Linked DNA regions of Homo sapiens: region 1 is linked to region 2. Evidence: promoter capture Hi-C in human tissues and cell types (Jung and others, 2019). All regions are on one chromosome and are shown on one strand. Each heading gives the region's core, a stretch centred on a gene start or on the middle of the fragment in contact. The rest is flanking DNA. Distances are from core to core; before and after follow the strand shown.

Evidence for each region. The method cuts DNA at HindIII sites, captures the fragments that hold promoters and counts their contacts. A contact is called where the count stands out against the background at its distance.
Region 1: a fragment that was not itself captured here is called in contact with the fragment with the promoter of TEX19 in region 2 in 5 of the 25 tissues and cell types used here (IMR-90 fibroblasts, dorsolateral prefrontal cortex, mesenchymal stem cells and 2 more).

Annotation. Positions count from the first base shown.
Region 1 is chr17:82,471,514-82,477,153 of GRCh38, reverse strand. It overlaps NARF (nuclear prelamin A recognition factor), which reads right to left. Exons shown (of 11, transcript NM_012336.4): 5 at 4,456-4,590. Among named protein-coding and RNA genes, the nearest start is that of NARF, 16 kb to the right of the region's middle. The HindIII fragment of the contact is 9,427 bases long and covers 1-5,640 here.
Region 2 is chr17:82,357,347-82,362,784 of GRCh38, reverse strand. TEX19 (testis expressed 19) reads right to left here and starts at 3,538. Exons shown (of 2, transcript NM_207459.4): 1 at 3,500-3,538; 2 at 1-905. The coding sequence starts at 634. The coding sequence ends at 140. RefSeq lists a silencer at 2,058-2,352. The HindIII fragment of the contact is 14,968 bases long and covers 504-5,438 here.

The DNA.
Region 1 (5,640 bases), core at 792-3,291, 120 kb before region 2:
ACTTGGAAGGCTAAGATGGGAGGATCACTTGAGCCCAAGAGGTTGAAGCTCTCGTGAGCCATGATTGAGCTGCCGCACTCCAGCGTGGGCAACAAAGTAAGATCCTGCTTAAAAAACTGTTGGCTGGGTGGAGTGGCTCACACCTCTAATCCCAGCACACTTTGGGAGGCCGAGGCGGGTGGATCACCTGAGGTCGGGAGTTCTATTCCAGCCTGGCCAACATGGTGAAACCCTGTCTCTACTGAAAATATAAAAATTAGCTGGGCGTGGTGGCAGGCGCCTCTAATCCCAGCTACTTGGGAGGCTGAGGCAGGAGAATGGCTTGAACCTGGGAGGTGGGGGTTGCAGTGAGCTGAGATCTCGCTATTGCACTCTAGCCTGAGCAACAAGAGCGAAACTCCGTCTCAAAAACGCCAGGTGTGGTGGCTCATGCCTGTAATCCCAGCACTTTGGGAGTCCAAGGAAGGCAGATCATCGAGGTCAGGAGATCAAGGCCAGCCTGACCAACAAAGTGAAACCGTGTCTCTATTACAAATACAAAAATTAGCCAGGCGTGGTGGTGCATGCCTCTAATCCTAGCTACTCAGGAGGCTGAGGCAGCAGAATCGCTTGAACCCAGGAGGCAGAGGAGCCGAGATCACGCCACTGCACTCCAGCCTGGGCAACAGAGCGAGACTCCATCTCAAAACAAACAAACAAACAAAAAAGTGTTAGCTGGGCACAGTGGCTCACTGCTGTAATCCCAGCACTTTGGGAGGCCGAGGCAGGCGGATCACCTGAGGTCAGGAGTTTGAGACTGGCCTGGCCAACATGGTGCAACCCCGTCTCTACTAAAAATACAAAAATTAGCCGGGCATGGTGGCAAGTGCCTGTAATCCCAGCACTTTGGGAGACTGAGGCGGGCGATCACCTGAGGTCAGGAGTTTGAGACCAGCCTGACCAAAATGGTAAAACCCTGTCTCTACTACAGATACAAAAATTAGCTGGGCATGGTGGCATGCACCTGCAATCCCAACTTCTCAGGAGGCTGAGTTGGGAGAATCACTTGAACCTGGGGGATGGAGGTTGCAGTGGGCCAAGATCACACCAATGCACTCCAGCCTGGGTGACAGAGCGAGACTCTGTCTCAATAAATAAATAAATAAAATAAAAAATAAAAAAAAGTCTTGACCAGGATGGAGCTTATGTTGAGAAATAAAGTTTATACTTTTTATCTTTTAATTCTGTTCTTCCACAAACTTTTTGCAGTCTCCTTACATTTGTTGATTTCCTTATGAGAGGTCCTACTGGGATGGAACCTTCTCAAGTCACTGAAGGAACTAACTCTGCTGATGTGAATCCTGAGCAGATTGCTGATTTGTATAGAAACGGTGATCCCTCCGCCTGTGGCAGTGAACACAATGCTAGGTAGGGGCCCTGAGAGGTCTCTTCTCAGTGACGGCATTTCTGAGAAATGTGTCACCAAATCCTTTCTCTTCTCCAGCCACTGGCTGCAGGCCAGCCCCTTGCTTCCTATTTTAGCTTGAGATTTGCTGTATGTATGTAGTATATATGTATGATTGACAGGGTTGCTCTGTTACCCAGGCTGGAGTGCGGTGGTGCAATCACGGCTCACTGCAGCCTCGACCTCCTGGGTTCCAGTGAAGCTCCCACCTCAGCCTCCCGAGTAGCAGGGACTACAGGTGCCCGCCACACCTGGCTAATTTTTTGTATTTTTAGTAGAGACGGGGTTTCACCGTGTTAGCCAGGATGGTCTCAATCTCCTGACCTTGTGATCCGCCCACCTCGGCCTCCCAAAGTGCTGGGATTACAGGCGTGAGCCACTGCGCCCGGCCTAAATTTTTTATAATTTAAAAACCACTGCTCCAGGGGCATGGGCCTTAGTTCGTTGTCATTTTACACGGCCTCTTCCTTGGTTGGGGGTGGAACTAAGCAAGTGTGACTGGTGTTGTGAAGCCATGTTGTGTGTGGTATCATGTAACAGGGTCCCAAAAGGAAAGCACTCCTGCAAGGGGACCACAGAGGCAGGCTCAGGCTCAGCACACAAACACCAGGTACTCCCAGGTTGCTGGAGTCCAGGCAGCCCCAGAAACCATCAGGTGTGGAAATTATCCCTTTACACCTGGAAACACACCCAAAATGCCACAAGAGCTGAATGTAACACCCACAATCTAGTAAAAGGCTGTATCTGGCGTCAAATGGCTTATACTTCGACCTCTGATACAAAAATCTGTGAATCACTTACAGTAAGGCAAACCATACAGCTGAAAGAAGTCACTAACATCCCTGTCCCCATCTGGAGCTGAGATCACAGCAGGCTGTGGGTTGCTGGTGAACGATACAGCTCAAATAACGAGCCAACCAATGCAGCCCATGGAACAGATGGTAAATTTCCTCTTTATATTTTATAAATGGCTAGAGAGTAAGTCCGTATTCTAAGCAACCACGATGTCAATGTTCCATCTTATTAATTCATAATCCTAATGACTAAAGGTTGACATGTAAAATGCCAGAAAAATTTGAAACCATTGTAGGGGGAGCATAAATTAAGAACTGAAACGTGAACCAAACCCTAAAAATTATACAGCCTACGACTAGCTTAGATAGAGCTCTCCTATGCTCCCACAGGCCTCATGTAGTAGAATAATTTTTAACTAGTGTTGTTTGCCAGGATAGCCATTCCTTCCTTATTCCCTTATGCATCATCGAAGATTTCTTAACCCAAACTCTCTATTTTTCCAGAATTGAAAAGCATGTGACAAATCTCTTCTATAACTCAGGCATCCAAAAACCAATTAAAGAGTGGTTTAAACAGTGCGCCCTGAGAGTATCTGAATATCAATGTAAAGAAATTTTCTTATTCTGTATTTTTTTTAAGCTGGCAAAAGATACATGCACGTTTGCCATATTATTCCATAATTATTTGTACATCTGAGATATGTTGTACTTTCAAGAGAAAACGGATTTTCTTAAGAGACAGGACCTCAGTCTTTCGCCCAGGCTGGAGTACAATGGAGGAGTCATAGCTCACTGCAGCCTCTAACTCCTTGGCTCAAACACCTCAGGCTAGGATTCGTAGTAGCTGTGATTACAGGTACTTGCCACCACCCCTGGCTTTTTTTTGTTTTTTTTTGCAGAGACGAGGTCTCACTATGTTGACGAGACTGGTCCCACACTCCTGGGCTAAAGCAATCCTCCCACATCAGCCTTCTAAATTGTTGGGATTATGGCTGTGAGCCACCATGCCTGGCCTATTTTTCTTTTCCTTTTAAAAAATATTTATTTAAAAAATTAGAGGACGGGTGTGGTGGCTCATGTCTGTAATCCCAGCACTTTGGGAGGCCAAGGCGGGCAGATCACTTGAGGTCAGGATTTCAAGACCAGCCTGGGCAACATGGCGAAACCCCATCTCTACTAAAAATACAAAAATTAGCCAGGCGTGGTGGCGCTAGCCTGTAATCCCAGCTACTGGGGAGGCTGAGGCATAAGAATCGCTTGAACCTGGCCAGGCACAGTGGCTCACGCCTGTAATCCCAGCATTTTGGGAGGCCGAGGCAGGCAGATCACGAGGTCAGGAGATCGAGACCATCCTGACTAACACGGTGAAACCCCGTCTCTACTAAAAATACAAAAAGAAATTAGCCGGGTGTGGTGGCAGGCGCCTGTAGTCCCAGCTACTCGGGAGGGTGAGGCAGGATGCACTCCAGTCTGGGTGACAGAGCGAGACTCTGTCTCAACAACAAAAAAAAAAGAATCGCTTGAACCTGGGAGGTGGAGGTTGCAATGAGCCGAGATCACACCACTGCACTCCAGCCTGGGCAACAGACTGAGATTCCGTCTCCAAAAAAAAAAAAAAAATAGAGACATGTTGCCCAGGCTGGTCTCAAACTCCTGGGCTCAAGAGATCTGCCTAGACTGGGCACAGTGGCTCACGCCTGTAATCCCAGCACTTTGGGAGCCCGAGGCAGGCAGATCACCTGAGATCAGGAGTTCAAGACCAGCCTGGCCAATATGGCAAAACCCCATCTCCACTAATAATACAATAATTAGTTGGGTGCAGTGGCGTGCACCTGTAGTCCCAGCTACTTGGCAGGCTAAGGCAGGAGAATCGCTTGAACCCGGGAGGTGGAGCTTGCAGTGAGCCGAGATCGTGCCACTGCACTCCAGCCTGAGTGACAGAGCGAGACTCTGTCTCAAAAAAAAAATAATAAAAATAAAATAAAATTAAATAAATAACCATACTGGCCTTTCCAGTGTGGCACCTCTGATGAAAAACTAAATTGGCTGTCCCAAAACATCAAACACCCTCTGTGAATCAGGCCAAGCTCTTCCCTCCTGGTCTACAAGGCTGGGTGGGATGGGTCTGTCTGCCTCCAACCTCATCTAGAGCCTGCAGAATCTTGTGAAACCTCTTTTGGCACCTCAGGCCAACAGAGCGGGGGTCCAGGGGCTCACCAGGACAGGCAGAGGTCAGCATGGGCAGGGTGCGTTCCTCCTCACTGTGCTGGCGATAGCGACGCACGAATTCTTTTTGACTCTCCAGGATACTAAAATCCGCAGCTATCGTCGTATCAAATACATAGTGCACCCCTGCAGGAGAGAGGAGCATATTCAGCTTAAATCACGTACTAAAAGATCTACTTTTAGGCTTCCTCTTTTTTTTTTTTTTTGAGACGGAGTCTCGTTCTGTCACCCAGGCTAGAGTGCAGTGGCATAATCTCGGCTCACTGCAACCTCCGCCTCCCAGGTTCAAGTGATCCTCCCACCTCAGTCTCCCGAGTAACTGGGATTACAGGTGCCCGCCATCATGCCTGGCCAATTTTTGTATTTTTTAGTAGAGATGAGGTTTCACCATGTTGGCCAGGCTGGTCTTGAATTCCTAGCCTCAAGTGATCTACCCACCTTGGCCTCCCAGAGTGCTGGAATTACAGGCGTGAACCACTGCATCCAGCCAATACTTCTTCATTCTTACTCATTTTTGCTTTCTCACGTTTAAGAGACAAACTTAAAGCATAGATTCTACAGGCATCCCTCCTAAGATAATAAAATCAGTCTTGGTTCTTATCTATTCCTAACGGCCTAAGTTCAAGACCGTGTGCTTTACCTTTTATTTTGTAAACAATGAGCGTGTATGATTTTTCACAATGAAATATGTATGTTCTCTCTCATGCTTCTTCCCTCTCTACATTTTAAAACACCTTACTCCATATATAAATTAATGAAATATTACAACGTACCCACAGCATTCCCTTCCAATTCACAGGCAAATTAAATTTCAGTCTGTGATGGTTCTTGATGTGTTTAAAAGTAGAACGTACAGTAAAAGTATAGAATGGCTGGGCATACTTTTTTTTTTTTTTTTGAGACGGAGTCTCACTCTTTCGCGCAAGCTGGACTGCAGTGGCGCTATCCCGGCTCACTGCAAGCTCCGCCTCTTGGGTTCATGCCATTCTCCTGCCTCAGCCTCCCGAGTAGCTGGGACTACAGGCGCCCACCACCACGCCCGGCTAATTTTTTGTATTTTTAGTAGAGATGGGGTTTCACCGTGTTAGCCAGGATGGTCTCGATCTCCTGACCTCGTGATCCGCCCGCCTCGGCCTCCCAAAGTGCTGGGATTACAGGCGTGAGCCACCGCGCCCG
Region 2 (5,438 bases), core at 2,289-4,788:
TATCATAGCAGCCCACCATGGAGACAAGCTGCAGGGCCAGTAACTAGGCCTCAGCCTCGGCAGGGTCCACTGCCCAGGTAATGCCCAGCTTCAACACCACGGGCTCCCCTGGGGGCAGGTCCACTTTGAGAAACCCCTGCTATGAAGGAAAGAAGCTTGGCCAGTGTGAGCAGGTAAGAAGCTCCTCAAATCTCCAGGGAAGACCCTGGGTCCAGTCAGCATCCTCAAGGCCCAGGCCCAGGGGCACAGCCTCCTGAGGCCATAGTTCAGTGGGGACAAAGTGGGGGTCCAGACCTGCATCTTCCAACCCTTCTGGGGCTGCTGCCAGGGTCCCTGGCCCCCATGCCTCAGAGCCCCCCTGCACAGGCTGTCCTGGGCTCTGCCCCCAGCTCAGCTCCATCCCTGAGGACCCCTCCTGCTCTGACTCTGCCTCAGTGTGCTCCATCAGCTCAGGGTCCCAGTTGTCTTCTTCCCAGTCCTCTGACTCCAGCAAGTCTTTAAAGTCTAGAAAGGCAGCCTTGAAGCAGGTGAAGCAAATGCTTAGCTGATCTCCATGTTGAAGCTGATACATCCAGGAGGCGTAGAGGTAGGACATGCCCTCTTCCTCATACCGCATGCTGACCGGAGGGCACATGGCCAGGCTGCCTGCCTACTGCCGGGGTGGACAGCAAGAGCTGGGCCTTCAGAGGATCTTGGACGGTCTGGCCACAGGTGCTGAGGCCAGTAGGATGCTGGGCGGCAGGGATGAAGGGGACAAGGAGCAGGAGGAGAAAGGGGTTTCCTATCCAGGGATTTGGGGTGGGGTGGATGACCTGGGTCCCAGCTCAGTGGGGACCTGCAGAGGGTGGAAGCTTGAACTTCTGGAAATGTCTTCAGCTTCTGCAGTTGCTGTGGTCTCAGGAGAGCTGGAAAGGCAAAGGAAGGGAGGTTAGGCACCCCCAGCAGGCAGGGTGGGGGCAAACTGTGGGGACCAGCAGGGGCAGGGATGTTGGGGTTCAGACTGGCCCTTTAGTGGGGACCCTGCTCAGTTTGAACAGCACCGGGGCTGGGAGGCCTTCAGTTCCTCCATCCGACCTCCCCGGGCTCATCAGCCACCCCCTACACCTCAGGGACCCCAACAGCCCATCAGCTTCACCTGACAGAACCTGGGGGAACATGAGGGAAACTGGCAGAGCCTGAGGGGACCTGATGGAAATTGAGGGAACCTGAAGGAAACTGGGGGAACCTGAGGGAACCTGAGGGAAACTGGGGGAACCTGAGGGAAACTGGGGGAAACTGAGGGAAACTGGGGGAACCTGAGAGAAACTGGGGGAAACTGAGGGAACCTGAGGGAAACTGGGGGAAACTGAGGGAACCTGAGGGAAACTGGGGGAACCTGAGGGAAACTGGCAGAGCCTGAGGGGACCTGATGGAAATTGAGGGAACCTGAAGGAAACTGAGGCAACTTGAGGAAACCTAAGGGAAACTGAGGGAAACTGGGGGAACCTGAGGGAAACTGGGGGAAACTGAGGGAAACTGGGGGAACCTGAGGGAAACTTGAGGGAAACTGGGGGAAACTGGGGGAACCTGAGGGAAACTGGGGGAAACTGAGGGAACCTGAGGGAAACTGGGGGAACCTGAGGGAAACTGGCAGAGCCTGAGGGGACCTGATGGAAATTGAGGGAACCTGAAGGAAACTGAGGCAACTTGAGGAAACCTGAGGGAAACTGAGGGAAACTGGGGGAACCTGAGGGAAACTGGGGGAAACTGAGGGAACCTGAGGGAAACTGAGGGAACCTGAGGGAAACTGGGGAAAACTGAGGGAACCTGAGGGAAACTGGGGGAACCTGAGGGAAACTGAGGGAACCTGAGGGAAACTGGGGGAACCTGAGGGAAACTTGAGGGAAACTGGGGGAAACTGAGGGAACCTGAGGGAAACTGGGGGAACCTGAGGGAAACTGGGGGAAACTGAGGGAACCTGAGGGAAACTGGGGGAACCTGAGGGAAACTGGGGGAACCTGAGGGAAACTTGAGGGAAACTGGGGGAACCTGAGGGAAACTGGGGGAACCTGAGGGAAACTTGAGGGAAACTGAGGGAACCTGAGGGAAACTGGGGGAACCTGAGGGAAACTTGAGGGAACCCGAGGGAACCTGAGGGAAACTGGGGGAACCTGAGGGAAACTGAGGGAACCTGAGGGAAACTGGGGGAACCTGAGGGAAACTGGGGGAACCTGAGGGAAACTTGAGGGAAACTGGGGGAAACTGAGGGAAACTGGGGGAACCTGAGGGAAACTGAGGGAACCTGAGGGAACCTGAGGGAAACTGGGGGAACCTGAGGGAAACTTGAGGGAACCTGAGGGAAACTGGGGGAACCTGAGGGAAACTGAGGGAACCTGAGGGAAACTGGGGGAACCTGAGGGAAACTTGAGGGAAACTGGGGGAAACTGAGGGAAACTGGGGGAACCTGAGGGAAACTGAGGGAACCTGAGGGAAACTGGGGGAACCTGAGGGAAACTGGGGGAAACTGGGGGAACCTGAGGGAACCTGAGGGAAACTGGGGGAACCTGAGGGAAACTTGAGGGAAACTGGGGGAAACTGGGGGAACCTGGGGGAAACTGGGGGAACCTGAGGGAAACTGAGGGAACCTGAGGGAAACTGGGGGAACCTGAGGGAAACTTGAGGGAAACTGAGGGAACCTGAGGGAAACTGGGGGAACCTGAGGGAAACTTGAGGGAAACTGGGGGAAACTGGGGGAACCTGGGGGAAACTGGGGGAACCTGAGGGAACCTGAGGGAAACTGGGGGAACCTGAGGGAAACTTGAGGGAAACTGAGGGAACCTGAGGGAAACTGGGGGAACCTGAGGGAAACTTGAGGGAAACTGAGGGAAACTGGGGGAACCTGAGGGAAACTGGGGGAACCCGAGGGAAACTTGAGGGAAACTGGGGGAACCTGAGGGGAACTTGAGGGAAACTGGGGGAACCTGAGGGAAACTGGGGGAAACTGAGGGGAACTTGAGGGAAACTGAGGGAACCTGAGGGAAGCTGGGGGAAACTGAGGGAACCTGAGGGAAACTGAGGGAAATTTGAGGGAAACTGGGGGAAACTGAGGGAAACTTGAGGGAAACTGAGGGAACCTGAGGGAAACTGGGGGAACCTGAGGGAAGCTGAGGGAAACTTGAGGGAAACTGGGGGAACCTGAGGGAAACTTGAGGGAAACTGAGGGAACCTGAGGGAAACTGAGGGAAACTTGAGGGAAACTGAGGGAACCTGAGGGAAACTGAGGGAACCTGAGGGAAACTGAGGGAAACTTGAGGGAAACTGAGGGAACCTGAGGGAAACTGAGGGAAATTTGAGGGAACTTGGAGAACCTTAGGGAACCTGAGGGAAACTGAGGGAAATTTGAGGGAAACTGAGGGAACCTGAGGAATCCTGGCCCCGCTTCAGCCTCCCAACCCCTCACCCAGCACCAGGCCGTGTCTCCGAGACCCCTCCTCAGAGACCCCTCCTCGGGAGATCTCACCATCCTGGTGTCTCTGTTCATGTGGGCACCCAGGGAAAGGAGGAGGCAGAGCCCATTTGGGTATATAAAGGGCCATTTCCCATGGTGCTCTGGGCTCATCTGCATATCTCCCATGAGCCTCAGTTTCCAGGAAATGAAAGTGCTGAGTCACCAGCTCCCTCCAAGGAGGGCCATGTGCAGCCCCTGGGCACCTGCAGGAAGGCCCTGGAGAGGCAGCTCCTCTGGGGGCTGGAGATTGGGGTGGGTGCTCTCCGTCTGCAGGCTGGCACAGGGTGAGCATCCAGCCTGTGGTTGCTGGCCCGTCGTGGGCACGACGTCCTGGTCCTGCCGCGTTTGTAAAACGTGATCCCTGCTTTGCTGTCTCTGTCTTAAAGTTCTCTGAATTTTAAGAACCAGCCAATTGTCAATTAGTTATTGTTTAAACACATTTTCCCCTTTGTGGTTCATCTCTTCGCTCTTTAAACAAGACGCTTATAAATTAACACTTGTTTTTTCAGTAGACTCTATTTTTTACAGCAGTTTTAGGTTCATAGCAAAATTGAGCCAAAAGCATGGAGCTCTCCCACCGCTCCCCTGCTCCTGCAGGTGCACAGCCTTCCCCAGTCCTCCCGTCCCAGCCATTTGTTACACGTTGTTATTATCATCATCGCCCTCTGCAGTTTCCATTATGCTTTCCTCCGGTGCTGTGCATTCTGCAGGTTTGGACACATGTATAATCATGCAGACCCACCACTCTAATATTGTACAGACGGGTTTCTCCGCCCCGATTCATCTGTGTTCTGCATTTTCATCACTCCCTCTCCCAGCCCCTGGCAACCAGGAATCTTTTGACTGTCTCCTTAATTTTGCCTTTTCCAAAATGTCACAGAGCTGGACTCATACATTATGTAGCCTTTTCAACTTCTTTTTTAGTAATACGCACTTTGGTTCTTCCATGTCTTTTGTGGTTTGATAGTTCACTTCTTTTTTTTTTTTTTTTTTTTTTTGAGACAGAGTCTTGCTCTGTCACCCAGGCTGGAATGCACTGGTGAAATCACAGCTACTACAGCCTCAACCTCCTGGGCTCCTGTGATTTTCTCACCTCAGCCTCCCAAATAGCTGGGACTACAGGTGCTGGTGCACACCCCGATAAGTTTTGTATTTTTTGTGAGACAGGGCCTCACCATGTTGCCCACACTGGTATCAAACACTTGGGCTCAAGTGATCCGCCTGCCTCTGCCTCCCACAGTGCTGGGATTACAGACGTGAGCCACCTTGCATGGCCAGCTCACTTATTTTTTAACACTGAATGGTATTCCATTGTCTGGATGTACCATGGTTTATTTATCCATTCACCTATGGAAAGACATCTTGGTTGCTCCCAGGTTTGGGCAATTATGAATAAAGCTACTACAAATATTCATGTGCAGGTGTCTGTAGACATAAGTTCTCAACTCATTTTGGTAAACTCTAAGGAGTGAGATTGCTGGATGCTGTGGTCAGAGTGTGTTTAGTTTTGTAAGAAAGTGACAAATTGTCTCACACAGTGGCCCTGTGGGAGGAACCCCCAAACCCTTTCCCTACATCCCCATGACCTCTGCTCCTCCCCACCTGGCAGCTGTCTGTGCCTGGCTCAGGTCATCCACACACCTGGGGCTGCCTGCCACCCCCACCAGGTTAGGGCTCAGATCAGGGCCACCCCTCACCCTGGGGCTTCCTCGTCCCAGTCCTGGGATAGGGGCAGGTGTGGGGCTTTGGCTGCCAGGTGTCCTGCTGTGGGTGGAGAGGGCAGTGAGCTCATTCCCTAAAGACTCGGGTGCCTGAGCTGTCTGGCTGGTCCCCTCAGGTGAGAGGAAAGTAGTGGTTGAGGGACCCCACAGAGAAGCCTGTTTATGGGTCTGGGGGTCAGAGGCTCCCGGGAGGAGCCCCCAGGTCCTGGTTTTCTCTGAAAAGGCCACTC